2 separate regions of the Homo sapiens genome follow, and region 2 is linked to region 1. The links are contacts of gene promoters, found by promoter capture Hi-C in human tissues and cell types (Jung and others, 2019). All regions are on one chromosome and are shown on one strand. The core of a region is centred on a gene start or on the middle of the fragment in contact, and the rest is flanking DNA. Distances in the headings are between cores, read along the strand shown. Region 1 holds the start of TES (testin LIM domain protein). Region 2 overlaps WNT2 (Wnt family member 2).

The links. Contacts are between HindIII fragments. The study calls those that stand out against the background at their distance.
Region 2: a contact is called between a fragment that was not itself captured here and the fragment with the promoter of TES in region 1, in 1 of the 25 tissues and cell types used here (dorsolateral prefrontal cortex).

What each region holds. Positions count from the first base shown.
Region 1 is chr7:116,208,659-116,211,831 of GRCh38, reverse strand. TES (testin LIM domain protein) reads right to left here and starts at 1,293. Exons shown (of 7, transcript NM_015641.4): 1 at 1,098-1,293. The coding sequence starts at 1,124. RefSeq lists an enhancer at 365-604 and silencers at 965-1,054, 1,195-1,394, 1,149-1,411, 1,445-1,574. The HindIII fragment of the contact is 11,100 bases long and covers 1-3,173 here.
Region 2 is chr7:117,287,376-117,290,625 of GRCh38, reverse strand. The region is part of intron 4 of WNT2 (Wnt family member 2); the gene reads left to right. The region is part of intron 1 of LOC124900596 (a long non-coding RNA gene); the gene reads right to left. Among named protein-coding and RNA genes, the nearest start is that of WNT2, 34 kb to the left of the region's middle. The HindIII fragment of the contact is 3,972 bases long and covers 8-3,250 here.

The DNA.
Region 1 (3,173 bases), core at 44-2,543:
CACAATATTTTGTATCCATTTTCAAAAATCCAGTTCTGGGCATAAAATAGAATTAATGCTCAAGTCAAAAACTTTGTGTTTAGAAGATAAAATATTAGGAACCATGAGTATGAGAAAAACAAAAACTGTTTTCTGTATTTTTCCCTTCCTCTCTCTGCAAAACTTCTCTATTTGATAAGGGACAGCTAGCTTAAATTTACCACAAAGTAAAACATGAGCAAATCCCCTGGAACGAGGAGAACTTTCGCACAGGGCAATTCACTCGAATGTGACATCAGCATTCCTTCTGAGTCATAGTCTGGTCCCCACCCTTTTCTCCCAGGCGACACCAGGCTCCGCATAACCCGGGAGTGGCTCAGGTAGGGCCGTCGGTTCCAGTGCCTGCGAGGCAGCAGCCAAGCTGAAAATGTCTCCCTGCGCTGAGACGCTGGTGACAACCGCCCTTTGGGACTACCTGCCAAACAAGGAGAATGCGCTCTTTGACAGATAATTCCCTAAGAGGGAGGCACTGCCTCGGTCGGTAGACAAGTAATGAATGACCGAAAAAAAAATCACATTAGAAGTTATCACCAGCACGGGTGCGAAGGCAGTGCATTAAATCAACACTCATTTTAGAGCGCCCCAGACAGCCCAGCCGGAAGGGAGGAGATCAGAGCTGTCAAAGCACAGCAGAGCCCCAAACCACAAAGGCTTAATGAAATTCAACTTCCTGAGCCAGGAAGTGTCACGGTCTCGCCCGCACTCGCCCTAAGCTCGTCCTTTCCTTTTGAGGAGGCACAGGCAGAGCTGAAACATCTTAAGTAAAGTTTCCAACACCTACAACCACTGGGATTCCGTGAGACTGGAGAGAAGAGTCCCGCGCCCGCCCTCGCTCGCGCTTCCAATTCTGTCGCTCCCGAGTGTGGGGAGCTGGCGGGGCCGCCGAGCACCTCCTCTACCCAGGGGGCCAGGTCCCTGGGCCCGGGGCACCGCAGACCCAGAGCCGGGCTCACACCGGGGGGCCCGCGAGCCCCACCCACCTCGGCACCTCCGGCCGCCGCGCGCCGCGCGACCCGCGCAGGTGAAGCAGCCGCCGCCCGCCACGAGCGCCCCCCTACCTTCTTCACTTTGTTTTCCAGGTCCATGTTAACGCGTCCTATGGGTCCCCTCCTCCTCCTATCCGGGATCCCACGGCCGGGTTCAGCTGGCCTCCGGCTCCGCTGCGAACACGGGAAACCTGCGGAACTCCCGCGGCGCCGCTCAACAGCCACTCGCCCGGCGCCGTCGAACTTCCGCCGCCCAGTCCGCCGCAGCGGGCCTGCGGCCCGGACCCGGGAACAAAGGGGGCCGGGCAGCCAATGGCAGCCGGGCAGCTCCGGGCCGCCGCCAATCACCGAGCGCCGCACGCACCTTCGCGGCCCGAGCGCGGCGCTGGCAAGGTGAGAGGCGGGGCGGCGTCCGAGGCGGCGCCCTGCTGGGCAAGCTCAGTGACCCTGACCTGGTCTCCGAAGGGATTCTCTGGGCGTCCACGGGCCGGCTTCTAAAGAGCTGGGATCCCCAGCCTCCCTCTAGCTGAAGATGGAGAAGAACTTTTTCCATTTGGCAATTTGTACCTGTGTTTGCCCAGGACTTTTTATTTGGGTCAAGGGGAATAGTTATCCCAATACTAACTTCTCAGTTTATTTTCAGGGTAAAGAGAGAAAAAAAAGAGAGAGAGAGAGATTGTAGGGATCGTTAGGGATTCCTGTGATGGACCTTGGGCACTAAATTCAATATTGCGTTGTGGAGATGCCCTTTCCTCAATTGCTTTTTTCCACAATCCCAAATACTGTCAAGAAACCGTATCTTACATCCCTAAAGTCAGCGAAGATTCTTAGATTGTTTTCTGAGCATTGGGTTGTTCAAAAGTAAAGATGATGTGAATCACTTCAGAAACAGGTTGTGTCATTCCTTTGGAAGCAGAGGGTTGCCCTTTGTCTCTGTGTGAGATGGTGCTAGGCCTATCGCGTGCTCAGGCTTTGATGAAGCAGAGTCATCACATTGGTGCACCAAAGCTGAATTCATTTCATGCCCTAATTCAGGAGCAATTGCATCTAATACCATCAGATTGGTCGGTCTGGAAGGGAGCCTAACGATTACTTAGTCTAGCTTCCTCACTTTGCAGGGAACTGAGGACTCCAGAGGTGCAGGGACCTGCCTAATGTCTTAGCCTGTTGGGGACAGAGGCATTGCTCATGAATCTAAACAACTTCTCAAAGATGTTTGGGGCTGGAAGCACAGCATGTTGACTAAGGAAAAAGAGCAGTCAATTTTCTTCAATTTGTGGTTATGGCAAAAAATAACATTGCCCAGACAGCAGGTGACCTAATTTGGCACCTACTTTTAAAAATAACAAAACAATATAAAACAAACAAACAAAAATTCCCTAATAATGCAGATATTCAGGTCCAGATGTATGTCTGCCTTGCCTCGAGAAATTTGGTAGCTAAAAATATCCAAAATTCATTTTAGCCAATACTTGCAACTCTGCTTACTTGATTATTTGTTAACACAGAGCATTGATTTATAATGTGCATGTTTCCTTTATCCTATTAAGAATTAAAACTGAAATTACCAAAATGAGTTATGCATTTTTCTTTTCAGCTGATGTAAAACTTTTCTGTGTCATTTTCCCAAACCACCTTGAAAGGTGTGGGCCCCTGCAAAGTCTGCCCGTTGTAAGTGTATAGGATCATGAGGTCTAGCTATGACAAGGCAATTTTGTTTCTTTCAGAGAGCTTAACAGATGGAAAATGTCCAGTAAAGCAATTTAAATAAGGCATCAAACAAATGTTGTAACATAAATTTTGGACCCTTATTTGATGAGGTTGCAGAGATGACACTAAGAAAACCATCTGGAAACTTTTTTTTTTTAACTGTCAACTTCTGCCTTTCTCCCATTCTTCCTTCCCAACCCTCTCAGCATTACATTGTGTGTGTGTATCATTGGCAAGGATGGAAATAGAAATTCAGTGAGTTTTATCTGGAATTATCACTGTGCCAATTATATAAAAATAATTATAGATTATGTATAAATTATAAAAATAAAATTGAGGTAGATAAGTGTTAAGAGAGTTAAATTGTAAGTTTTTGTTCAGTTATTCAGGTGTTAAGCTACAGTTATTAAGGAGGTAGAACTGGCATGGTTTGATGAG
Region 2 (3,250 bases), core at 744-3,243, 1.1 Mb before region 1:
TTTGACAAGGTAAAGAATAAGTTATTCATCTCCTTCTGCTTTGACACTTATAGAAATTCATGGATTGATATCTAAAAGGTGCTAAGATAGCTAGACCAGAAGAGAATTGTAGAAAAAAATGTTTCACTGAGGCTTATAAGTCACCATTTTCATGGGTAGTTATTGATTATACTCTAGAATTAGTAGTAATTACTATCCATTGAGCCTTCTTTTCAAACTCTTTAGTGGCATATAGTATAATTAGCCTTTCCCTCCTTCCCAAAACAGTCTTATTTCCTTGACTTTATAACTACACTCCTCTGCTTTTCCTCCTGCTCCAATAACTAGTCCTTTCTGATTTCAGTTGCTAGTTTCTCCTTCTCCAAATTTTGAAGATCTTCCAGGCTGTCTGAACTCTCTTTGCTCTCTCTCTGTACTTTCTCCCTGGTTTGGTCTCTCCATTCCTATGGTTTTAAATGCTGTCCCTGTCCTTGTCTGCCTTCTGTACCATCATCCTGTATCCAATTCCCTGCTTGACAGCTTCACCCAGATTTCATACAATTATATCAACCTGCTTCTGCTTAAAACTGGACTCCTTATTTGCCCTGTCCCCTGAAACTTGTTTTCCCCCAGCCCTCCTCATCTCAGAAAATGGTACTGCCTGCCACCCACTTCCATGGTCAAGCATAAACCTGCGAGTCATTCCTTACACTCCTTCCTTGTCACCTCCATCATCCCGGGTACCACTGGGACCTCTTAAATGTGTCAAGGACCTATCTGCTTCTCCATCCTTACTACCAACCCCTAGGTCCAAACAGAGCTATGTTCTTTTGAGCATAGCATGTGCCACAGTGTGTATAGCGAATTTGTATAAACATGTGTTTGTGACCTGCCTGTACCAATGGAGTCCACTGAGGATCCTGTGACGGCAGGAACTGTATCTGCCTTGCTCACTAGTTCCCCAACTCCTAGTACACAAACATGTGTTGAAGTGAATTGAATGGCAAATTATAAAAAAACATAAAACAGTTTCATTAGATTAGCTGCATTCTTCTGTGTGTTAGCGCTGCTTCATAGCTTAAAGATAACTTGGTTCCTTTGAAGGGGATTACTAGGCACATCTCCACCCAGCACTGCTTAGCTTTTAACTCACAGCCTATGAAAATTCCCATTTAAGCTTAAGTGTTCAATGGAATTTTTCCTCATATTCAGGCGCATTCATGAGGCATTTATGGAGTTTCAGATGTTGCTTGCCTGGCTATTCCCCTGGAGATAAAAAGTCTCAAGTGGGCCGGGCGCAGTGGCTCACGCCTGTAATACTAGCACTTTGGGAGGCCGAGGCAGGAGGATCATGAGGTCAGGAGATCAAGACCATCCTGGCTAACACGGGGAAACCCCGTCTCTACTAAAAATACAAAAAAATTAGCCGGGCGTTGTGGTGGGCGCCTGTAGTCCCAGCTACTCAGGAGGCTGACAGGAGAATAGCGTGAACCTGGGAGGCAGAGCTTGCAGTGAGCCGAGATTGTGCCACTGAACTCCAGCCTGAGCAACAGAGCAAGACTCTGTCTCAAAAAAAAAAAAAAAAAAAAAAAAAAGTCTAACGTGAACTAATGCATCAGCAGACTATATCTATCGCTTTTAACTGGCAGCAGAGACTCAGTTCTTTTACTCTTGGAGGGGCATTTTTCACTCACTACTATCAGTGGCCTCCCTGAGTAGTTCCTAATTCTCATATTAACAGCAAAAATACTTTTCACATCCAATGCTCTTTGATGTTGTAGGCAGAATCTATAAATCTGTGTTATTTTTAAAATACAAACTTAGTAGAATTACTATATTTTTAGGATACACTAAAATGTGCCTTAATTTGAATTGACAGTGGTAATCAGATTGAATTGTGAATACTGAAAAAAGGATTTTTTTTCTAAAAAAAAAGATACTTTTCAGGAAAAAAATGTTTATTTTCTTATTTCTAATTCTTTGACATAGTTTGAACTACTGACAAATACTTTACCAAATAGATGCCCTTTTATCTTTGTATTTTGGAAATAGAAACTACTCATTTCGAATTACCAATTAAATGTGTTGCAAACAAAAGGATGACGTTAAAATACTTTAAAATAACAAATTTGCTTACTTCATTTAAGCTTTCCCCATGACACCTATTTTGTACTGGTAAATATCTTTTTTAAAGATATGCAAATTTCATATTATTAGGGAAAGAGCCCTGTGTGATCTATAAGGAGACTTTGGTGCTACAGATTGCTGCATATCACTATTTCTCCAATTGGACTAATGGGCAAATTAACTTCTCTGGGTCTCTTAAGAAATGGCTGTTTCATCTAGCAATTTCTAAGGTTCCTTTGATTCAGTAAGTGAATGAATTAATTATTAAGTTTAATTAAGTTTGCAATAACAGAACCTTAAATTGATACCACAAACTTTCTTAAGTTGTCATTTTTAATTTCTATCATTTAAAAATGTGCCACGTTTTTGGTATGTGTTTTCCATATACCAAGCAAGATCATTTTAACAGAGCCAAGGTTTAGCTGGTCTGCTGCCACCATGGTGCCTGAAGACTGGGTGACCAGTCCCTGGAGAAATGTGCCCTCATCAGGCAAAAGGAAAGCTGATCTTAATTTTTTTTTTTCTTTTCCCTGAGACGGAGTCTTGCTCTGTCACCTAGGCTGGAGTACAATGGCCCAATCTCAGCTCACTGCAACCTCTGCCTTCTGGGTTCAAACGATTCTCCTGCCTCAGCCTCCCGAGTAGCTGGGATTACAGGTGTCCACCACCATGGCCAGCTAATTTTTGTATTTTTAGTAGAGATGGGGTTTCACCATGTTGGCCAGGCTGGTCTTGAACTCCTGACCTCAAGTGATCTGCCCACCTTGACCTCCCAAAGTGCTGATATTACAAGCATGAGCCACCACACCCAGCCTTGATCTAAATTTTTAAGACACTATTTTTAATGTAATATTTAATAAATCAGCACATATGTGTTGACCACACAGTATATAGAAGAAAGCATAAGAAGAAAGCATAAGACCCAACCCCTGTCCCTGGGGAGACAAGATGCATGAAAAAATGATCAAATATTTCCAAACAGTGCATGAACCCTGTGGCGTGATGTGCATTACAGGCCTAATGAAGGAGGTTAGCTGGGCTTGCAGACCGAAAGTGCTGTATAGAAAATGCTGAAGTAGGCCTGAATCTGGAAGGATGGGAAGACTTCTGATGGAAGGAGTTACAGGAAAGGCCAATGCAGCAG